Linked DNA regions of Homo sapiens: regions 2, 3, 4, 5 and 6 are each linked to region 1. Evidence: promoter capture Hi-C in human tissues and cell types (Jung and others, 2019). All regions are on one chromosome and are shown on one strand. The core of a region is centred on a gene start or on the middle of the fragment in contact, and the rest is flanking DNA. Distances in the headings are between cores, read along the strand shown. Region 1 holds the start of ATP6V0C (ATPase H+ transporting V0 subunit c). Region 2 holds the start of NTHL1 (nth like DNA glycosylase 1). Region 3 overlaps FLYWCH1 (FLYWCH-type zinc finger 1). Region 4 overlaps TRAF7 (TNF receptor associated factor 7). Region 5 holds the start of DNASE1L2 (deoxyribonuclease 1 like 2). Region 6 overlaps ELOB (elongin B).

Evidence for each region. Contacts are between HindIII fragments. The study calls those that stand out against the background at their distance.
Region 2: the fragment with the promoter of NTHL1 here is called in contact with the fragment with the promoter of ATP6V0C in region 1 in 2 of the 25 tissues and cell types used here (dorsolateral prefrontal cortex and spleen).
Region 3: a contact is called between a fragment that was not itself captured here and the fragment with the promoter of ATP6V0C in region 1, in 2 of the 25 tissues and cell types used here (dorsolateral prefrontal cortex and spleen).
Region 4: a contact is called between a fragment that was not itself captured here and the fragment with the promoter of ATP6V0C in region 1, in 7 of the 25 tissues and cell types used here (H1 embryonic stem cells, dorsolateral prefrontal cortex, lymphoblastoid cells and 4 more).
Region 5: a contact is called between the fragment with the promoter of DNASE1L2 here and the fragment with the promoter of ATP6V0C in region 1, in 4 of the 25 tissues and cell types used here (dorsolateral prefrontal cortex, mesendoderm cells, small bowel and 1 more).
Region 6: a contact is called between a fragment that was not itself captured here and the fragment with the promoter of ATP6V0C in region 1, in 1 of the 25 tissues and cell types used here (dorsolateral prefrontal cortex).

What each region holds. Positions count from the first base shown.
Region 1 is chr16:2,511,955-2,515,619 of GRCh38, reverse strand. It overlaps ATP6V0C (ATPase H+ transporting V0 subunit c), which reads right to left and starts at 1,668. Exons shown (of 3, transcript NM_001694.4): 1 at 1,438-1,668. The coding sequence starts at 1,516. RefSeq lists silencers at 913-1,052, 1,473-1,952 and an enhancer at 2,858-3,152. The HindIII fragment of the contact is 15,008 bases long and covers 1-3,665 here.
Region 2 is chr16:2,046,132-2,049,796 of GRCh38, reverse strand. NTHL1 (nth like DNA glycosylase 1) reads left to right here and starts at 1,963. Exons shown (of 6, transcript NM_002528.7): 1 at 1,963-2,088; 2 at 3,431-3,665. The coding sequence starts at 1,974. TSC2 (TSC complex subunit 2) reads right to left here and starts at 1,812. Exons shown (of 42, transcript NM_000548.5): 1 at 1,732-1,812; 2 at 1,044-1,210. The coding sequence starts at 1,181. RefSeq lists a silencer at 1,549-1,778 and enhancers at 1,869-1,958, 2,409-2,468, 2,060-2,559. The HindIII fragment of the contact is 27,107 bases long and covers 1-3,665 here.
Region 3 is chr16:2,914,470-2,918,134 of GRCh38, reverse strand. All of the region lies in intron 2 of FLYWCH1 (FLYWCH-type zinc finger 1), which reads right to left. Among named protein-coding and RNA genes, the nearest start is that of FLYWCH1, 4.4 kb to the right of the region's middle. The HindIII fragment of the contact is 5,144 bases long and covers 1-3,665 here.
Region 4 is chr16:2,163,168-2,166,832 of GRCh38, reverse strand. It overlaps TRAF7 (TNF receptor associated factor 7), which reads right to left. Exons shown (of 21, transcript NM_032271.3): 2 at 2,832-2,950; 3 at 897-954. The coding sequence starts at 2,912. Among named protein-coding and RNA genes, the nearest start is that of TRAF7, 9.2 kb to the right of the region's middle. RefSeq lists enhancers at 906-1,678, 1,679-2,452, 2,862-3,361, 3,362-3,665. The HindIII fragment of the contact is 6,093 bases long and covers 1-3,665 here.
Region 5 is chr16:2,234,733-2,238,397 of GRCh38, reverse strand. It overlaps DNASE1L2 (deoxyribonuclease 1 like 2), which reads right to left and starts at 1,954. Exons shown (of 7, transcript NM_001374.3): 1 at 1,838-1,954; 2 at 1,438-1,620; 3 at 1,272-1,360; 4 at 1,097-1,180; 5 at 749-1,022; 6 at 380-631; 7 at 1-36. The coding sequence starts at 1,581. E4F1 (E4F transcription factor 1) reads right to left here. Exons shown (of 14, transcript NM_004424.5): 11 at 3,617-3,665; 12 at 3,397-3,539; 13 at 3,255-3,317; 14 at 2,656-3,182. The coding sequence ends at 2,826. The HindIII fragment of the contact is 25,906 bases long and covers 1-3,665 here.
Region 6 is chr16:2,772,210-2,775,874 of GRCh38, reverse strand. It overlaps ELOB (elongin B), which reads left to right. Exons shown (of 4, transcript NM_007108.4): 3 at 319-424. Among named protein-coding and RNA genes, the nearest start is that of ELOB, 3.2 kb to the left of the region's middle. RefSeq lists a silencer at 2,654-2,806. The HindIII fragment of the contact is 3,004 bases long and covers 852-3,665 here.

The sequences.
Region 1 (3,665 bases), core at 419-2,918:
CCTTGAGTCTGTGGAAAGAGCAGGCGGTGCCTAGGGGGAAGGAGAAGTCTAGACCACTTCTTCCACCACAAATGACCCCTTACTTGCACACGACGGGAAGGCCAGGGCTCACTCACGAATGGCAGACAGGCCCAGGCAGAAGGAGGCCCGCAAGAGAACAGAGAGCTCCAAGCCCCCACCCCACAGGTGTTTACAGTCAGCAGAGACTGTTTGGAGTTCAAACCCTCCACATATCTGCACTAGGAGCCTCCCCAGGCCACCAGGCAGGGTGGGGCAGGGCACGGTCATCAAAGCTAAAACCAGACCTAACCACGGAGGCGGAAATCAGACCAGGCCAGGCCAGTCCACGGAGGCTGAGACTGGGCCAGAACTTAACTCGTCGGACCCACATTCCTGGGCCTAGCCCTAGCCCAAGTGCCATTCTCCCAGGGAGACCAATTGTCACTAAATTGGACGCCCAGGACCTGTCAAGGCCCAATTTCAAAAGCAGGGTGCCACCAAGAACCCTAGAAGGCCCCTTCTCCAAGCCCAGGGAAGCCCCTCCCAACTTCAGGCCTCAGGGAGGGAAAGGAAGGTCATTCATTCACCCCTCCATTCATTAGGACCACAACTGGAAGCCTCAGTCCTGAGGGCAACGACTGGATCCCATAAACTCGGACACCCATGCCACCCTCTCACCCACCTCAGAGCACAGACCCTCTGCAAGCTACACAGCCCCGCCAGCGCCGATGCTGCTGTCTCCCCGCTCCCTCCACTTCCACACACTCCCACCCGGGTCTCCGCGGGCTCTCCGAACCAAGCCCTCAGCCCAGCTTTCCCAAACAGCCCACACAGCGACACGGGTATTGGGCAACTGTAACCAGCTCCAACCGGAAGTACCTGCCTGTGGGTGAGACCCACCTGACCCTCGGGGCCGGCCGCCATAAGGGCGAGGGCTGAGGACCTCCCGTGGGGGACATGGGCTCCCCACCAGCCGGAAAGCTCCAGCGACCGGCTGGGCGTTCCTGGGCCGGACCCGCGCCGCCGCCCGCGCACTGGGGCCTTCGAGGTGTGATGTCACCTGCCCGCAGAATCGGCCCCCCTCGCGCCGCCCCCCTCGCGCCCCCACCCCAGCCTCCCTCTCGCCGCTCCCGGGGCTAATATGGCAGCGGCGCCGCCGCCCCACCCCCGCAACCGCACGACCCGGCTGGCAGGGCCGCCGGCCCGGACCCCCGAGACTCACACCCCGGCCAGGCCCGCACGCCCTGCGCCCCGGACCCCCGGCGGCTCCCCGCAGCCCTCGGGGCGCCGACCCCCGCCCGCTGTCACACGAGGCCCGGGCGCCCCCGACAGCTCGGGATTACGTCAGAGTGACGTCACACACCGGACCCCGGCGAGCTGCGGGCATGAGCAACGCGCGCGCCCCCGCCCCCGAGTCCCTCCCGCCGCCGCGCTCACCGCTGAAGACCATGGCGGCCGAGGCGCCCATGACGGCGAAAAACGAAGCATACTCGGGGCCGCTCTTGGACTCGGACATGTCTGCGGGTGGGGAGGGGGCAAGCTCTGCGGGCCGAGGCGGTGGCGGAGGCGGGGGCGAGGACGGGCCGGGCACGAAGGTTTGCGGGCGGGCGGCGGCGAAGGCGATCCGGCCCGTCAGCCGCTGCGCTCTAAATACCAGCACCGCAGAACAAAATGGCGGCCGCGGCCGCGTCACATGACCTGGGCCCCGCCCCTGCGAGCCGTACCACTTCGCACCGTGGGGGAGACGCGTCCCCGGGACGCCCGGCCGGCCCGTTGACCTCCCCCGGGCTGTGCCGCCCGCCCAGCGACCCGGCCCCGGCGCCCGGCCCCGCCCTGCCTCGGCCTCCGCGGGTGTTTCCGGGCGCCGCCGGCCTCTGGATCTCCGCAGCGTTGGACCGGTCTCGCGCCGGGGCGGGGCGGTGTGGTGTGTGCTTCATTAGCATACGGGGCGGGGCCTCGGACGCCCCGCCTCCTCTGCGGCTGCGCGTCGTCTGCAGGTGTTGGGTTCCCGGCGACGCTTTTCTTTGTACCCCTGGCGTGAAGCTGCAGGCCGTGGTTTCGCGGCCTTGCCCCCAAGACGGGGCCTCACCCCTCCGGGCGCTGGTCTTCCAGGATCTCCCTACCAATCCTGGGCGAGCTAAGGGTCCCAGCAGATGTGCGGCGCGCGGGCCTCCTCTGCCACAGCGTCCGGAAAAGCCCCCAGCCCACACCTGTGAAGTCCCAGCCCGTGGCTGCGGTCACCTCCCTCCACCCTGTCCCCAGTCTCCTCCAGACCCAGACCTACTGCCTCTGACCCAGCAGTTGGTGACTTCACCTCTCGCTTCGGAGAAAAAGGACCCCCTCCCCGCACCTGTCTCTGCCTTTGCATCAGGGACCCAAACATTAGTGGGGTGTGTCTCTGCCCCTCAAGATGTAGGCATGACTGGTGGAAGCCCTGTCGGAACTGCGACCTCTGGAGGCCCCCCGGGCTCTGCACGTTCTGGCGTCCTGGTCCTCCCACCTGTCCTTGCAGCCACCCACTCACGCAAAGCCTGCACCTTCAGGGCCATCTTTCTGTCTTTCTGGAGCAGTTGGAGCGGTTCCCGCAGCCGTGAAAGCAGCCCAGCCAGGGCTGGCGCTGCCCTACTGATCCTGTGTGGCAGTCCCTGGCACCCCCTCTGCCTGATCTCCATTCCCCCTTTCAGGGGCCCTGGGCAGCTGCCACCAGGCCTGAGTGTCCTTTGAGCTCTAAGGCCTCATCCTGGGTTAGAGCTCTCCCTGAGTAGCCTGGATGCTGGCTCATCACCTTCTCTATGTAGGCAATGGGGTCATGGCCCCTGGTCTGGCCCTCCTGCTGGACTCAGCCCCACCTTCCCCAGCAGGAGCCTCCCTCAAGCCCCTTCCCCAGGCTAGCCTGGGTCTGCCACTCTTGGAACTTGCAGCCCGTGAAAGTCCCTAAGTCTGTCCTGGTTCAAAGGAGAGGAGGCAACAGATACGGCCAGAGGCCCTTTCTGCTCCTCCCTCTTTCTTGCCCGGCCCTTGTTTCTGAGAAGACGAATCTTCACTCTGTCTCCACCTCCTCACCTGCCCTTCCCTCTCCAGCTCCTTGCCCTTGCCAAGGTCACTGGTGACCGCCATTTCTCTAAGCAGAAGGACATCTGTCAGGCTGTCCAAGTGGACCTCTGTGCTGCGTGGCCTGCCACCCTCTCCACACACTCTCCTCTCTCCTGCGGACTTCCTAAATCTCAGACGCCCTCATTCTTCCTGGAGTCACAAGGCCCTGTAGCCCCAATTTTGCTGCAGGTCCTGGCATACCCAGGGCTACCCCTAGCTCTGCCCTTCCCCTGCTTGATCCCATCCTTTCCCTGGCTTTGTCCCCCATCTTACGCCGTCTTGTCCCTCACCTGCACCATTCCAGCCCCGACCGCCCTCTGAGTGAGAGCAACACCAGTGCCTGCCCCCATAACTCCAAGCCCTCCAGGAAAGCCTAGGCCAGGAAGGCTGTGCCTGGGGCCGAATTCAGACCAAGGAAAGGTGGCGCAGAGCAGCCCACCATGGAGAAACAGCACAGTCCAAGCTCAGGGGTGGGCTGGGCACGGTGGCTCCCGCCTGTAATCCCAGCACTGTGGGAGGCCGAGGCAGGAGGATTGCTTGATCCCAGGAGTTTAAGACCAGCCTGGGCAACA
Region 2 (3,665 bases), core at 714-3,213, 470 kb after region 1:
GATGGAGTGCAGTGGCGCGATCACGGCTCACTGAAACCTCCGCCTCCCGGGTTCAAGCAATTCTCGTCTCAGCCCCCCGAGTAGCTGGAATTACAGGCGCCCACCACTATGACCGGCTAATTTTTGGTATTTTTAGTAGAGACGGGGTTTCGCCATGTTGGCCAGGCTGGTCTCAAACTCCTGACCTCAGGTGATCCACCCGCCTCGGCCTCCCAAAGTGCTGGGATGACAGGCGTGAGCCACCGCACCCAGCCAGGATGGACTATATTTTATTCATCAGTTGATGAACGTTTTAGTTGTTTCTAAGTAGAAAACTTTACAAGTGCAAAAATTCAGCATTTACTCATGGGCAAAACACAATGCCAGGCATGTGTGACAAAGACACAAACACACATAAAAGATAACGACCTAGCCCATGTGCGATGGCTCATGCCTGTAATCCCAGCACTTTGGGAGGCCAAAGCGGGCAGATCACCTGAGGTCAGCAGTTCAAGACCAGCCTGGCCAAGATAGTGAAACTCCATCTCTACTAAAAATACAAAAATTAAATGGGTGTGGTGGCACGTGTCTGTAGTCCCAGCTACTCAGGAGGCTGAGGCAGGAGAACCACTTGAAACTGGGAGGCAGAGGTAGCAGCGAGCAGAGATTGTGCCACTGCACTCCAGCCTAGGCAACAGAGCAAGACTCAGTCTCAAAAAAAAAATAAAATAAAGAACCTACTTCTCCCAGGAACTCACATCTTATCATGTAACACCTGGACATATCCTTACCTGTGAAGATGATGATACTCAGGCCTCATCTATAAGATGGGCTTTCTTTCATCAACATCTGAATAGTAACTCAAGTGTGCCTGAACCAGGTCACCAAGATCCTGACTTTCGAAGTCTCCTGAGGAAGGACATGTCGGCCTCCAAGTACTGGAGACAGCATTCCTGTGTAGACAGTTGCCAGCAACCCGTCTCCCACAGAACCTGGTGCAAGACCAAACCCAGCCTTCTCTGCATTTCCCTCTAGCCTAGCAAAGACACAGGTAGCTCACTCACTCTCAGTATTTCCGCGGTGATGATAAACTCCGTCTGTTTACCCTCTGCAGACCTGGGATTTGGCCTCGGTGTTCCCAGTCCCAACAGAATCTTAAACTTCTCCTTCAAGCCTGAATCTTTGCTTGTTGGTTTGGCCATGGTGGACCAGGACGCACCAGAAAACCCCTCTGTGCAAACGAAACAGGAATGGGGACATCTGAGCAACACCTCTGCCCACCTTCCCCACTGCGGACCTCCAGCCGTCAGGACCCTGGGTCTCTGGTGGGCATAACCTTTCCTCCCACACTCCCTGGGAGAACTCAACTACAGCCCAGCTGACCAGCTCGCAAACAGGCACCTAGGAAAGCCCGGGAGACACCAGGCCTGGTCTAGAGAGCTCTCTACTCAGACGCTGCCGCCCGCCCCGCCCGACTCAGTGCACGGGTTAGGACTGCCGCCGCGAAGTCCTGGGAGCCCCGACGTTTGCCGTCTCTCCTCTACCCATGTGAAGCAGGAGCTGTCACGGAGCCGCCTGCAGCAGAGACCCGTTCGCACCCGCCATGACTTAAAACTAAGGGATGCTCGGAGCTCCGGAGTCGGGTTGCAGTGGGCGCGGGTGAGGGCCCGGGACCCGGACACTGCGGGGTCCGCCTCTCTAGGCCGCTGCCCCGTGGGGACCGCCACTTGCCCCGTGGGGACCGCCACTTACCCCGCGCCGCGCCACCGCGCTCCGGGCCGCCCCGACGCGGAGAAAGGCGCACCCCCCTGGCCCCGGGACGCCGCCGGAAGCGCGACCCGCACTTCCGGTAGCGGCATTGCGCGGAGGGCCGCCTTGGGAGCTTGCTGGGAGTTGTAGTTCTGTGCCGCCCTCTGGCGGAAAGGCCGGCGATCCTTGCATCACGTGACGGGGCCGCATGGGCCGCCGGGATGTGTAGTCCGCAGGAGTCCGGCATGACCGCCTTGAGCGCGAGGATGCTGACCCGGAGCCGGAGCCTGGGACCCGGGGCTGGGCCGCGGGGGTGTAGGGAGGAGCCCGGGCCTCTCCGGAGAAGAGAGGCTGCAGCAGGTAGCGCCGCGCCGTGGCTGGAGCGTGGGAGGAGGCGGGATAGGGGCTGCAGGCTGGAGTCCCGGGCCGCCTCCTGCGGCTCCCAGCTGCGCGGGCAGGGGCTGCAAACCCGGCAGCCGCGAACGGTTCCCACGTGCGGCCCTGCGTTCCCACCTTGCGCCTTTTTCCCAAAGATTGCGGTCCGCAGGGGCTGGGTTTCGGGCGCTCCGCTCCGCTGCCCCCTTTCGCCCCAAGCAAGAAAACGCTTCCTTTCCCACCACTCTGTCCGGGACTCTCCACTCCAGGCTCTGTGGGTCCCATCCCCGCCCTCCTGCAGTGAACTTGCTGTCCTCGGAGAGGCTGGGTGCCAAGGACACACGCAGCCAGAAGCCTGCTCCCCCAGCTCGGGGGAGGGTGCCTCTGAGGGAAAACAGGAAAGGGCATGGCACTTATTATATTTATCCTGCAGCCGTTGAGGACCTGCTGGGGGCCAAGCACTGCAGTGAGCAGTGAGGGACACGGACAGGGCCTCTGCGCTAGTCCCGCTGGGACTTCTGCAGAATTGGCCAGAGCTGGATTCCCATAGGCACCCAGGGACCCCAGGGGTAGTCCAGACTATGTCAGGAGGAACTGGTGCAGCTGGGAGCAGGCAGGTGGTGATGCCAGCCAGGGTGGCAGGAGCTTTGATGCCAGGATAGAGTTTGGAGTTTATTATGACAGTAAACGGAAGTCAATTAGGAGGTTTTGTTGTTTGTTTTGAGATCGGGTCTTGCTCTGTCACCCAGGCTGTAGTGGAGTGTTGTGATCTCAGCTCACTGCAACCTCCGCCCCCCAGGTTCAAGCAGTTCTCCTGCCTCAGCCTCCCAAGTAGCTGAGACTATAGGCCCCTGCCACCACACCCGGCTAACTTTTGTATTTTTAGTAGAGATGGGGTTTTGCCATATTGGCCAGGCTGGTCTTGAACTCCTGACCTCAAGTGATCCACCCACCTCGGCCTCCCAAAGTGCTGGGATTACAGGCTTGATCCACCGCGCCCGGCCGGCCAGGATTTTTTAAAAGGGAGTGACACAACCTGATGTGGGTGTTAGCAGACTGTCTCTGGTGCAGTATAGAAGATGTATTGGGGGCACCTTGGTACAGGCTGTTGCTAGAGTCCTCATGAGCTAACATGGACCTTGTCAGGGTCGCTGGCATAAGGAGGGCCCACATACCCCAGACTGCAGAGGGCAGAGCACCCCAAGTGTATTAGATGATGGACAGTTGTGGCATGAACGAGTGAGGGGTGAGCTAGCAGGCGGGATGGCACCCCTACCCTACCTTCACCTGTGGCCCCACCAGAGGGACTGCGTGGTGCTTTTTGCAGAAGCGAGGAAAAGCCACAGCCCCGTGAAGCGTCCGCGGAAAGCACAGAGACTGCGTGTGGCCTATGAGGGCTCGGACAGTGAGAAAGGTGAGGGGGCTGAGCCCCTCAAGGTGCCAGTCTGGGAGCCCCAGGACTGGCAGCAACAGCTGGTCAACATCCGTGCCATGAGGAACAAAAAGGATGCACCTGTGGACCATCTGGGGACTGAGCACTGCTATGACTCCAGTGCCCCCCC
Region 3 (3,665 bases), core at 731-3,230, 400 kb before region 1:
AGGCACAGTGGCACATACCTCTAATTCCAGCACTTTGGGAGGCCGAGGTGGGTGGATCACTTGAGGTCAGGAGTTCAAGACAAGCCCGGCCAACATGGCAAAACCCCATCTCTTCCAAAAAATACAAAAATTACCTGGGCATGGTGGCGGGCGCCTGTAATCCCAGCTACTCAGGAGGCTGAGGCAGGGAGAATTGCTTGAACCCAGGAAGTGGAGGTTGCACAGTGAGCCAAGATCGTGCCACTGTACTCCAGCCTGGGCAACAGTGAGACTCCATCTCGAGGGGGAAGAAAAGACTCCAGATTTTGGGGGGTGGGGAGAGGATCGGGGGAGGGGAAGAGGGAGGCCAAAGGAAGAGGGAGGAACAAGAATCTAGATTTTTCACAAATCCTCCTGATACTGATAGACTGTGAACTAGACTTTGACAAACACTAGAATAGATGACCTTGGGAAACAGAAGACTGCAGCTAAGCGACGAACCTAAGCAACACCTGAGGTTTGCTTTGTGCTGGGCACTAAAATACCTGAAGTATTTTATCTACATCATCTCATTTACTCTTTAATGTCATACAGGTTTCCTCATTAATGTCACAGAAAATCATTAACGGCCGGGCATGGTGGCTCACACCTGTAATCCCAGCACTTTGGGAGGCTGAGATGGGCGGATCACCTGAGGTCAGGAGTTCGAAACCAGCCTGACCAACATGGCAAAACCCCGTCTCTACTAAAAATACAAAATTAGCTGGGCGTCGTGGTGGGCGCCTGTAATCCCAGCTACTCGGGAGGCTGAGGCAGGAGAATCGCTTGTACCCGGGAGGTGGAAGTTGCAGTGAGCAGAGATCCCACCATTGCACTCCAGCCTGGGTGACAAGAGCAAAACTCCATCTCAAAAAAAAAAAAAAAATTATTAACAAGCTTACTTTGTATTATTGGGAAAGTCATGGCTTTTTAAAAATTTTTTTTACTTTTTTTTATTTTTGAGACAGAGTTTCGCTCTTTCACCTGGGCTGGAGTGCAGTGGCATGATCTCGGCTCACTGCAACTTCTGCCTTCTGGTTTCAAGCGATTCTCCTGCCTCAGCCTCCCAAGTAGCTGGGATTACAGGTGCGCGCTACCACGCCTGGCTAATTTTTGTTATTTTTTTTTTTTTTTTTACTAGAGATGGGGTTTCACCATGTTGTCCAGGCTAATCTCGAACTCCTGACCTCATGATCCACCCCCCTCGGCCTCCCAAAGAGCTGGGATTACAGGAGTGAGCCACCATGCCTGGCCGATTTCCTCGTTTTTGAAAGTATTAGCAATTTAACAAGTTTCAGGAACCTTAGGGGTATTTTGGGGAACCTCAAGAAGAGAGGAATTTGCCCAAATTTTAAGTACTACAGGTAAAATCTGATGGAGAAAGCATCCTGGACTTGCCTTCTGTGTCTCAGGATATCAAACAACGAATTTTTAAATTTCTTTTTTCTTTTTTTTATTTTTTGTTTTGTTTTGTTTTTTTGAGATGGAGTCTCGCTCTGTCACCCAGGCTGGAGTGCAGTGGTGCGATCTCGGCTCTCTGCAAGCTCTGTCTCCTGGGTTCACGCCATTCTCCGGCCTCAGCCTCCAGAGTAGCTGAGACTACAGGCACCTGCCACCAGGCCTGGATAATTTTTTGTATTTTGTTAGTAGAGACGGGGTTTCACCATGTTAGCCAGGATGGTCTCTATCTCCTGACTTCGTGATCCGCCTGCCTCAGCTTCCCAAAGTGCTGGGATTACAGGCGTGAGCCACCACACCCGGCCTGTATTTTTGTTTTGAGATGGAGTCCCACTCTGTTGCCCAGGCTGGAGTACAGTGGCATGATCTCAGCTCACTGCAACTTCTGCCTCCTAGGTTAATTATCCTGACTCAGCTTCCTGAGTAGCTAGGATTACAGGCACGCACCAACACGCCCAGCTAACTTTTGTTTTTAGTAGAGATGAGGTTTCATCATGTTGGCCAGGCTGGTCTCGAACTTCTGACCTCAAGTGATCAGCCCGTCTTTGCCTCCCAAAATGCTGGGATTACAGGTGTGAGCCACGGCACCTGGCCAAAACAACAGACTTTAAAAAGTCTAAGTTTCCTTATGGAGACTTCCAGGCAGGCAAACTCAGGTAGGCTTATCTGGTGAATCAGTACTATTGCTGCACTACATAATCAGGCCAAATATGATGAAATCAGCCTTATAATCAAAAATATGTTTCCTTGGCCACTGTAGAAGAGGCCAGTTTTGCCTCCATTTGCACATTCATTTCAATATTCCTGATCTAGAATCTTGTAGATTCTTCTTTGGATTCTCTCTTTTTTTTTTTTTTCTCTCGACACAGAGTCTTGCTCTGTCTCCCAGGCTGGGGAGCAGTGGCTAGATCTCAGCTAACTGCAACCTCCGATTCCCAGGCTCAAGCCATTCTGGTGCCTCTGCCTCCCGTGATCCGCCCACCTTGGCCTCTCAAAGTGCTGGGATTACAGGCGTGAACCACTGCGACCAGCCCATGTAATTTTAAAAATTGCTGACTGGAACCTAATGATTTTAGGACCAATGACTAAGCAGTTTCAAAAACAGTGCCCTAGACCAAAACAAAGGAAATACAATTCTTTTATACTCATATAAAGCAAACACATGTTAAAGATTTTACTTACCGTTAGCCAGTAAGGTGGAGCTCAGGAGTTTGAGACCGGCCTGGCCAACATGGTGAAACCCTGTCTCTACTAAAAATACAACAATTAGCTGGGCTTGGTAGCACAGGCCTGTAATCCCAGTTTGCCGCCTGGCCAACACGGTAAAACCCTGTCTCTACTAAAAATACAAAAAAATTAGTCGGTCGTGGTGCATGCCTGTAATCCCAGCTGCTCAGGAGGCTGAGGCAGAACTCACTGAACCTACCGGGGAGATGGAGGTTGCAGTGAGCCAAGATCACACCAATGCACTCCAGCCTAGGCAACAAAATGAGACTGTCTCAGGAAAAAAAAAAAAAATTTCAGTGCATGTAATAAAAATGAGTATATTTTAATACATTTATATTATTTAATAAATTCAATAAATATCTCATTTAATAAAAATTAGAAACTTTTGTTACTCTAGTTTAAGTGCTTTTTTTTTTTACAGTAGATACCCATTGTTTTACAGTAGATACAGGGGCCCTAATGTGTTTCTTTTGTAATGTTCAATCTTCATTCAGTACAAATTTCTTTTTTTTTTTTTTTTTTTGAGACAGAGTCTCACTCTGTCGCCCAGGCTGGAGTGCAGTGGCTCGATCCTGTCTCACTGCAACCTCCGCTGAATCCTTGAACCAGGTTCAAGCGATTCTGCTCCTCAGGCTCCTGAGTAGCTGGGATTACAGGTGTGCGCCACCACGCCCAGCTAAATTTTTTGTATTTTTAGTATAGACAGGGTTTCACCATGTTAGCCAGGCTGGTCTCAAACTCCTGACCTCTGGTGATCTGCCCACCTCAGCCTCCCAAAGTGCTGGGATTACAGACGTGAACCACCATGCCTGGCTGCACTCAGTACAGATTTCTTAAGTGAATGGAGCACAGGCCGGCAGATTTGCATGGAAAGCTCCAAAGTCTCAGTTCATGGTGCATCACTCTCCTGTCCTCTCTCCCCTTCTCCCAGAATTGAGGGTGCGGAGCAATTTGAGTGCAAT
Region 4 (3,665 bases), core at 417-2,916, 350 kb after region 1:
CCTGAGCACGGCGCTTGCGTTCAAAGCGCAGCACTCTGGTTTTTAGGGGATAGGACTGAGAAGCAGCAGGGAAGCTTCAGGTTTCTGTCGTGTATCCCGCCCAGTGGTCTTGTGCAGGTGAAGATTTATTGGGCTTGGCTTGCTGGCTCATGCCTGTAATTCCAGCACTTTGGGAGGCCAAGGCAGGAGGATCACGTGAGCCCAGGAATTTGAGACCATCCTGGGCAACATGGTGAGACCTCATCTCTACCAAACATAAAAAAAATTAGCCAGGTGTGGTGGTGCCTGTGGTCCCAGCTACCTGGGAGGCTGAGGTGGCAGGACTGATCCCAGGAGGCACAGGTTGCAGTGAGCCAAGATTGCGCCACTGCATTCCAGCTTGGGTGACAGAGTGACACCCGTCTCAAAAAAACAAACCAGACTTATGGATCTCTTCCACTCTCCCTCCCTTCCTATTAACATGTCACAACTGCAGCACTGTTACTGAAGCCCTAGGGCCAAACTCAAGAGAAGACCTCCGGGCACACGGGACCTTTCGGAGGCTGGCCAGGAGCCTGAGACTGGGGACAAGCTGGGGATCACTGTGACAAGGGACAGGGCTGTGTGGTGGTGCTGGAGATGTCAGGGCAAGCCTCCCTAGAGGGGATGAAGAGGGCAGGGAGAGAGGGCACAGCACAGTCACCGAGGCACAAGGAGCAGGACACCCGACTCCTGTCCAGTGGGGAGGCCCAGGGCTGAGAGGCTGTGAGGACACAGGCTGCGGTGTGAGGCTGCCCGCGCCCAGCACTGGCACCCAACACCAGCTCACCGGGAAGTGTCCCTCAGTCCTTAGCAGGGTGGGCATGGGGGTGCCCCGGTTATTCCCAGCCTGGGCTGGCCTTGGCTTAAGGGCTCACCTTTTGTGATGGTGGTGACGGCTGAAAAGGCGGGTCCGAAGGTCGTTTCCATTCTGGTCTAGAGGGAGGACGGAGGAGACCTGGCCTCATTCCGGGACACAAGGAGGACGTGCACATGTGGAGCCCACTCACATGCCTAACACGCGACCAGGCCAGGCCACGCAGCACTCACACACTTAACCATGCGACCAGGCCACGCCACGCAGCACTCACACGCTTAATCATGCGACCAGGCCGCGCCACGCAGCGCTAACACGCTTAACCATGCGACCAGGCCAGGCCACGCAGCACTCACACGCTTAACCATGCGACCAGGCTGCGCCACACAGCACTCACACGCTTAACCATGCGACCAGGCCAGGCCACGCAGCACTAACACGCTAAACCATGCGACCAGGCCAGGCCACGCAGCACTCACACGTTTAACCATGCGACCAGGCTGCGCCACACAGCACTCACACGCTTAACCATGCGACCAGGCCAGGCCACGCAGCACTAACACGCTTAACCATGCGACCAGGCCAGGCCACGCAGCACTCACACGCTTAACCATGCGACCAGGCCGCGCCACGCAGCACTCACACGCTTAACCATGCGACCAGGCCGCGCCACACAGCACTCACACACTTAACCATGCGACCAGGCCGCGCCACGCAGCACTAACACGCTTAACCATGCGACCAGGCCGCGCCACGTAGCACTAACACGCTTAACCATGCGACCAGGCCAGGCCATGCAGCACTCACACGCTTAACCATGCGACCAGGCCAGGCCACGCAGCACTCACACGCTTCAGCATGCGACCAGGCCAGGCCACGCAGCACTCACACGCTTAACCATGCGACCAGGCCAGGCCATGCAGCACTCACACGCTTCAGCATGCGACCAGGCCAGGCCATGCAGCACTCACACGCTTAACCATGCGACCAGGCCAGGCCACGCAGCACTCACACGCTTAACCATGCGACCAGGCTGCGCCACACAGCACTCACACGCTTAACCATGCGACCAGGCCAGGCCACGCAGCACTAACACGCTTAACCATGCGACCAGGCCAGGCCACGCAGCACTCACACGCTTAACCATGCGACCAGGCTGCGCCACACAGCACTCACACGCTTAACCATGCGACCAGGCCAGGCCACGCAGCACTAACACGCTTAACCATGCGACCAGGCCAGGCCACGCAGCACTCACACGCTTAACCATGCGACCAGGCCGCGCCACGCAGCACTCACACGCTTAACCATGCAACCAGGCCGCGCCACACAGCACTCACACGCTTAACCATGCGACCAGGCCGCGCCACGCAGCACTAACACGCTTAACCATGCGACCAGGCCGCGCCACGTAGCACTAACATGCTTAACCATGCGACCAGGCCAGGCCACGCAGCACTCACACGCTTAACCATGCGACCAGGCCAGGCCACGTAGCACTCACACGCTTAACCATGCGACCAGGCCAGGCCACGCAGCACTAACACGCTTAACCATGCGACCAGGCCAGGCCACGCAGCACTCACACGCTTAACCATGCGACCAGGCCGCACCACGCAGCACTAACACGCTTAACCATGCAACCAGGCCGCGCCACGCAGCACTAACACGCTTTACCATGCGACCAGGCCAGGTCACGCAGCACTCACACGCTTAACCATGCGACCAGGCCGCGCCACGCAGCACTCACACGCTTAACCATGCAACCAGGCCGCGCCACACAGCACTAACACGCCCCAACCACACACGCACGCGTGCGCGCGCGCGCGCGCGCGCGCACACACACACACACACACACCACACCCCCCCCCACCGAGCTCCCCTGAGACCCCAGCTCGGGACGGGACTGCGCTGGGAGCTCTGCAGGCAACACCAGATCCCTGGGGCATGCTGGGGGTCCTGGGGATGTTGGGCTTGCAGAGGGGCACACCCTTACCCCTGTGGTGACGTCTGGGGTGGGAAGATTGCTGGGCCCCCCGGAGAAGCGGTTGTAGCGGGCACTCTTGCCTGAGCTCATGCTCTAGAGAGGCATCTACGGTCCTTGGGAAGCACCTCCTGTGGGTGGAGCACAAATGAGGGGCTTGAGAGATGGAGCCCAGGCCCCTGTGAGTCAGACGGGCTGCTGCAAGTGTGCAGACCTGCTGTGGGGCACCGTGGGGCCGCCGCAGCAGCCTTCCACCACCAGCCCCGGCTCAGGCAGGCCTCTAGGAGGCAAAGGTCCTTCACCCCGATCCCAGGTATGCAGAGGCCCGGGCAGGCAGGCGGCTCTGCGTCACCGTCCCTCAAGGCTTAGCCTTTCTGAGCTCCCGAAGAGCCCATCCAGCTCTTCCCCGAGGTGGAGGGACCCCTGCCTGGCTCCCTCTACTCCTCTGGGTCCTGAGTCACAGCCAGTCACCTCCAGGCTGAATGTCCCTGGGGCCAAGGCTGGGCCTTGGTGGGTAGGCCCAGGGTGTGGCCCACGTGGCGGGACGCAGTCACACAGGGACCAGCCAAGGCACGACGAATGTGTTTCCTGCCACGACAGGTGCGGTCAGGACCCAGCCAGCACCAGGCTGCAGCGGGGAGACACCAGCCACACCCCAGAGAAAGAACCTGCAGGGTGAGTCACCGGAGCCCAACTCCACACAAACCGCACTGCACGGAAAAAAGCACAGGAGAGAGATGAGCCCGCCCCTGGAACCCGTGCAGGTCACCCACACTCCCAGCCACGCCACAGGGGCTCAGGGGCTGGTGGGTGGGGGGGCAGGGAGAAGGCATGCGGGAATCACCC
Region 5 (3,665 bases), core at 705-3,204, 280 kb after region 1:
CACCTCCACTGGAAAGTGGTCGCTGATGGCAAGAGCCTGTGGGGACAGAGTGAGCCTCAGGGGAAAAGTGCACCCCACCCACAGGGATGGGAGGGGCCGGTGAGGCCTGGGTGCCCACCCCTGCTGCTGCCTGCGGTGGGGCAGGGGCAGGGGCCGGGGCAGAGGGTGTCACCACTGGCCCTTTGAGGGAAAGGCAAGGTACCCTGCCTGCCCAGAGCTCCACATGGGGTGGGCCGGGCTCTCCAGGGTCCTTGGAAACGAGCCCTGGTGCAGGGAGGAAGCTGAGGTGGCCCTGCCTTGGGCGCTGGACCCTCCCTGCTGCCTGCGTGCGCCCGGGCGGTGGGGACCCAAGACCAGCACCGCCCCACGGCCCACTCGCCTGAGTCTGGTCCAGGCCGAATTCCTCCTGGAAGTCGTGCACGGTGGCCGACTGGGGCTTCAGGCTCCGGCGCAGGCGGGCGCCACAGGCCACAATGCGGTCGTAGGCGCAGTCTGAGTTGCCCACCGTGGTGTCGGCGCTGTCAGGGATGAGCCACTTGAAGACCTCACTGCTCCTCAGACGGATGGCGGCCCAGTCCTGCGCCCGCACATAGCTGCAGTCGGCGTTGAAGTCGCCCAGGAACAGCATGTCCTGCGGGCGCCGCGGAGCCGTGTCTGAGCCGCCGCAGGAGCCGTCGAGGTCCCGCCCTCATGAACCAGACCCCCGGGGCGCGCCTGCAGGGACCCCGGGACCGAGGGGTGGGCTTACGTCGGTGCCCCACTTGTCGATCACGTCCAGGTACACGTCGTAGAGCGCGTCGATCTCCGCCACGGCTTGATGCGGCGCCGCGTGCAGCGGGATCAGCACCAGGTTCTGTGCTGCTGCGGGAAGGGGTGGGGGCGTCAGAGCTCGGCGGGAGGGGAGGGGCGGGGCCCGCTCACCGGTGCCGGGGGCCGAGAACTTGACCACGAAGGGCTCGCGGCTGAAGACGTCCTCGGGGTCTGGGTACAGGTAGGTGTCCACGACCGACACCGCGTCTTTCCTAGGAGATGGGGAGGACCCGCTGAGCCCCCGACCTGCGGCCCCGCGCGCCCCTCCCTGCGGCCCGCCCCTCACCTGTACACGAACAGGTACATCTCCTTGTACTGGTCCCGGCCCAGGGGCTGGCTGCTCACAAAGCTGTACTCGTGCTCGGACACGCTGCGGAGACAGGGGCCCGCTCAGGGTCGGGGCGCCGCGCCGGGGCGAGATCCCGGCGGGGGGTCGCGACGAGGGGCCCTGCCCACCACACCTGTTGATCTGCTCCATGAGCGCGGACACGGCGCTGAGGTCTGGGTCTCGCACCTCCTGCACCAGCGCGAGGTCATAGCCAGCCAGGATCTGGGGAGGAGCGGCGGGTGCGGGGGTCAGCGCGGTCAGCACCCCTAAACGCCGCCCCGCCCCGGCCCGGGCCCCACCTTCGCGATGATGCTGCCGCAAGCGGGGTCCGACACTTTGCTGTCACCGAAGCTCTGAATGTTGAAGGCTCCGATGCGAAGCGCGGCGGTCCCGGCGGCTTCCAGCGCCCAGAGTGCGGCCAGCAGAGCCCGGGGCCCGCCCATGGCGCGGAGCGAGAGGCTGGGAGGGACAGACGCTGCCGCCTACGCAGACCCGCTGTCAGACCCACCGACCCACCCCTTCCCTCCGCGGCCGCCCCTTGACGGCCAGTGCGACGCGGAATCCGCCCCTGCGTTCTGCAGGCTCCCAGGGCACTGCTGGGCTCTCAGGGACCGCTGCCTTCTCACTGCGCGGGAAGCTGCAGCCGGAATGGAGGGTCCGGCCCATCCAGCCCCAGCTCAGGGCAGCCGAGAGACTCACCTTGGATGTGGGTGCAGAGGCCCGAGGCTCAGAGATCCTAGGGGGATGGGGATCCCGGGTCCAGGCTGCGGGCGTGTCCGACACAGGACTGCACTGACTCCCTCTGGCAGTAGCTCTGGCACCAAGGCAGGGGCCGGTATTTGAGGTCCTGGGCCAGGGAGGGGCCGGGCTGCACTGGGTCCCGCCCCCTCGACTCAGCTGGGTGCCTGATGAACTCCTGGCTTTCATTCCCATGGAGACCCCCAGGGTAAGGGGTGGGAGACCTGCCTGAGCCGGTTCTGGTGCCCCAGACCTGTCCCAAAACCGTCCCAGAAGCCCCTGCCAGCCCCCTAGGAGGGAGGTAGACGGTCAGCCACATCCCGGTGCGGCTGTGTTCTTGTCCTCGCCCCTAGAAATTAGGTCGCCTAGACTCTGCCTCCCTGAGCAGAATCCCTTCAGGGAAAGCAAGGCAGCGCAGGTAGGACCAGCCACACTCCCTACCCAGCATCTCCTGCTGCTGCTCCACCTGCTCACCCTGCGGTGGAGGCCGAGGCTCCCAGATCTCCCTGTCCCCGTCCCTGGTCCTCCCACCCACCCACAGGCCTCAGGCAGCGCAGCTGGGGGCACAGCTCCAGCTGGGCAGGGCAGGAGGCTGTTGGTCAACATGCCAATGACACCCACACAGCACCAAGGCGCCGCCAGGGCTGGCAGAAGCCCCTGGGTGGGGCGGCCAGGCACGTGAGTCTAGGAGTGGCCTGGGAGGCAGGTGCTGCTGCGGGGGCCTGGGCAAAGGTGGTGGCACCAGCCGCGGAGGCTGCCACTGCCACAACATCACAAGCTGCAGGTTCTCATGTTTTATTGTAAAGCAACAAGAAACTCTTATGTACACTGTCCGTCTTGGGGCGCCTCCATCCTGTGCCATCTTCTCTACCAGGCCAGGCAGGCATGGGTGGGGCGCTCAGAGTCCTCTGCCCTGTCCCTGCCCGGCCAGGACCCCGCAGACCTCATGCTAGACGATGACCGTCTGCACCTCCAGCTGGCCCTCCGGCGAGGCGATGACCAGCTCGCCTGCATGCTCCAGGATCTCGATGTCCTCTGATGACACCATGGTCACAGTGGCCTGTTCAGTGCCACTTGTCCCTGCCCGGGCGGCAAGCACAGTGCCCTCGCTGATGGCCGAGGCCAGCGTCATGGCCACCTGCTCTGTCAGGCTCTCGGGGGTGGCGATGGTGATGGTGTCGGCGGCAGCCGCCTCTGGGCCCAGCGCCGTCTCCTCGTCCATGGTGACGTTCTGCACGATGATCTGGTGGCCGGCGCTAGCCTGGTGCACGATCTGCTGCACCACCTTCATGATGTGGCTGTCCACCTGCAGGGCCACGGCTCAGCAAGAGCGGCTGTGCCAGGGAGCCTCCCCGCCCCCGCCTGCCCTACCCCTCACCTCTGTCTGGGTGCCCTCGATGATCTCCGTGGCCTCACTGGTCTCCGCATCGTCCGCAGTGGCCTGGGCAGATGGGCAGAAGGACAGAGGTCAGCCTTGGCTGCCCCTGGGTCCCAGCACGGCCCCAGGGCCCCACACCCACCTCGATGATATACTCCTGGGTGTCAGCTACCACGGACGAGAACTCCACCAACACTGTGTGCGGGTCTTCCGTGAGGACGGTGGTGGCTGCCGCGGGGCTGTCCTCAGACACCAGCAACTCCTCCACCTCCAGCAGGCAGCCCCCTGTGGGTGGGGACTCGGTCAGGGCTAGGCAAGCCCCGGCCCCCTCCCCTCCCCCTCCCACCTCCACCGGCCCAGACCTTTGGTGCGCAGGTGCCGGTTCAGCGTGCCGTGCTCGGCGAAGCCACG
Region 6 (3,665 bases), core at 1,104-3,603, 260 kb before region 1:
TGCCTAGTCCAGGGTGACAGAGCTGGGATTGAAAGCCAGGTCTGCCTATCTCCAGATAGCTCAGTGGCTCCTCAAATTAGATTTGCCTGGAGAATTTGGATAAAACCGGATTCTAAAGTCCCACCCTGGGAGGTTTTGATTTAGAAGTTCTTGGATATAACCCTGGAATCTGTGTATTTGTCAAGCAGCGTGGTGGTCCTGGGCCACACTGAGGGAACTCTCTCTTCCCTCCTCTGACTTCCCGTGTAGTTGCTGGTCAGAAGTCTTTGGGACTTGCCCCATGTAGGGCCTCTCCCAAGATCCTGCTTCTCTCCTCAGGATGACCAACTCTTGGATGATGGCAAGACACTGGGCGAGTGTGGCTTCACCAGTCAAACAGCACGGCCACAGGCCCCAGCCACAGTGGGGCTGGCCTTCCGGGCAGGTGAGAGGCCCACCACCCACTGGGCTGGGTGGTAGCCAAGCAGGTTGGGAACACTGTTCCAAAGAAGGTCATCAGGGAGCCTGGAGTTGAAGCCTTCAGGGCAGTGTCTTCCTCGTGCCTAAAGGGCTGGCAATATCCTTTCACAATGTGTTTGTTTCCTCATTTTTTTTTTTTTAAAAAAGAAGCAACCAAATGAGATGCTTACAGAAACCAAAGCTTATTTTGTGAAGCCAGCTCACATTTACAGGAGGCTGAGTGAGTGCCTGGCTCCGTGCTCTGCATGTTACTCTGTGTGTGGCTTCCACTGCCCTGTCTCATCCTCTCAGTAGCCCTGGGAAGTCCACATACCATCATCCGTGTTCTGCAGATGAGGACACAGGCTTACCAGCAGTCACGTAGGGAGCCACGGTTAGGATGCTGACTGCCGGGCCCTTGCTGGAGTCAGACATCATACCAGGCTCTATGCTATGTATCACCGAAACCCTCTGCATCTCTGTGTGGCTGAGATTTGGATTTTGCCAGTTTTCAGGTTCAGTAAAGTGAGCCTGGGGAGGTTAGGTCATCTGCTGGGACTGCCACATCTAGGATTCAGATCCAGAGCCTGGGCTTCCATCAGCCATACCCCACCCCTGCCCAAGCTTTAGAAACCTGGGGATTAGGGAGTGGTTTACTACTCGCCAAGATATCTTCTTCCACCCAAGAGAAAGGGAGGGGAGATTTAAAATATTTTGTCTCTAGGAACTTGAAGAGAGGTTATAGAGCTGTGTTTTCACAGCTGTGGACCCAGCAGCTGTGTGGATGGCTGAGAAAACTTGGATAAAGTTGTAAGGAATTCTTATTTTTCTGCCTGTAAGGGAACATAGCAAAGGCTGAAGAGGAAGAGTAGAGTCCTAGCTCCACCTTTCCGTTCCATAAGTTCAGGCTAGGCCTCAGTCTCAGCAGCTATATCCTCTGGCCAGCTACCTTGCCCTCCTGCCCCTCCTGGCCCCAGTGTTCCCTTCTCCTTAAAGGGGTGTGATGAGACTGGCTTCACAGCAAGGTGGTGTTGAGTCCTCATGCACCCCAGGTCTGGCCTGCTGCCAGTGCCCAACAGATGGGAAGCTTCAGAGCCTTTCTGTGGGCTCTTTCTGCCCAGATGGTGATGTTAAGAGTCAGGTGCAGGGCTGGCATAGACACAGGTCGTGCCTTGTACATGGGTGCATTTTTGTTGTTGTTGTTTCTGAGACAGAGTCGCACTCCGTTGTCTAGGCTGGAGTGCAGTGGCGCCATCTCAGCCCACTGCAGCCGCTGCCTCCCGGGTTCAAGCGATTCTCTTGCCTCAGTGGCCTGAGGAGCTGGGATTACAGGCATGTGCCACCACGCCCAGCTAATCTTTGTGTTTTTAGTAGAGATGGGGTTTCACCATGTTAGTCAGGCTGGTCTCAATCTCCTGACCTCAGGCGATCCATACATCCCAGCCTCCCAAAGTGCTGGGATTACAGGCCTGAGCCTCGGTGCCTGGCCCAGGGGTGCCTGTCTGAAGAGAGCAAGGGAGTGCCAAGAGCATATCTGGTCTGCTTCGTGAACCGAAGCTGGGCTGTGTTCCCCCAGAAGTGTCCCTTTCTCTAATTTCAACAGTGGTACCCCTAGAGGTTTGCTGTGACTTGGAAGATACTGATAGACCCATTTTGCAGATGAGAAAATCAAGGCTAAGGAAGGTGACTTGTTTTTCTCCCACAACCCCTAATATGGCATGGAATGTGGTGGTGACTCCGGAGCCCAGGTCACATCATCCCTCTTGCAGGTGATGGCTGTCTTGATAGGGGGCACAGCATGGGCTGTCAGCTCTTTGCTTCCCCATGGAATGCTTGCAGAAACACACTTCTGGGTGCAGCTCAACCCATCATCATGTTGTTCCCAGGCCTTGAATGGGTGCCCCACCCTCCGCCTCTCCCCTCCCCCAAGCTTACCACTCAAGGAGATGAGTATTTCAAATCAAATGTTAAAGGGCATTGTCCCGGCTCATCACAAAAGAATGAGGGAGGTAGTGAAGGCACGAATTGTCACAGGTTTGTGGCTTGGAAGATGGATTAGTTTCTGAACCTCGGCACAGTGGGCACATTGGGCTGGATTGCTGTGTGGGTTGCCTTGTGCACCATAGCACGTGGAGCCGTATCCCAGGCCTCTACCCACTAGATAGCGCTGGGGCACCCCACCTCCCCATTTGTGACCGCCACAACTGTGATCAGGCATTCCAGCTTTCCCTGGGATGCCTGATCAGTTGAGAACCCTGAGCCAAGCAGAGATGGGTCTCCTAGCTGGAAGAAAGCACAGGAGAAAAGCTGTGGGTTTGTTTGCTGTGTGTTGGGGTGACAGTAGGGACAAGACAGGGAAGGCCTTTGCCTTCCTGGAGCCAGTCAAAAGGGCAGTTTGTCCAGTGGTAAGTGCCCCTACGCCCAGAGTGTCAGGATGTCTTGACTTTTGGGGGTGCGTGGACTGGAGGTTCATCTGAGGAGGTGACCTGAGTTGGACCCTGAAAGTCCAGAAGCAGCCAGCCATTCCGAGTGCTGGGACCAGCAAGTGCGAAGGTCTGAGTTAGGAAAGAACTTACAGAAGAACATAGAGAGCCAGAGCCTCAGAGCGTGGGAAGCAGAGGGAGAGACAGACGGCAAGGACTTGGTGGTATTCAGGTCATGATGGGAAGCCACTGGATGGTTTTCAGCAGGGGAGGAATAGTCTAGATAGTCTAGTTTGATTTTTTTTTTTTGAGATGGAGTCTGTGTCGCCCAGGTTGGAGTGCAGTGGCGCGATCTCAGCTACTGCAAGCTCCGCCTCCCGGGTTCACGTCATTCTCCTGCCTCAGCCTCCCGAGAAGCTGGGACTGTAGGTGCCCGCCACCATGCCCGGCTAATTTTTTTTTTTTTTTTTTTTTTGTATTTTTAGTAGAGATGGGGTTTCACCGTGCTAGCCAGGATGGTCTTGACCTCCTGACCTCATGATCTGCCCGTCTCGGCCTCCCAAAGTGTGTGAAGGGAACAAGGAGATATATTCTGGGTGAAGGGTGATGCTGGCTGCAGATGGTGAGCCCTCAGACTCACTAGTGGACATGGAAGATGAGGAAAGGGGCCCCAGCATGGTCAGTGGGAAGGGCTGGGGACCTTCAGGTTGGGCCCACAGGGGTAGGAGACATTACCGTGGGGCCACGGGGGTAGCTGGAACAGGGAGGTCAGCGCTGTGGAGACTACAGCCGTGTGGAGGGGCG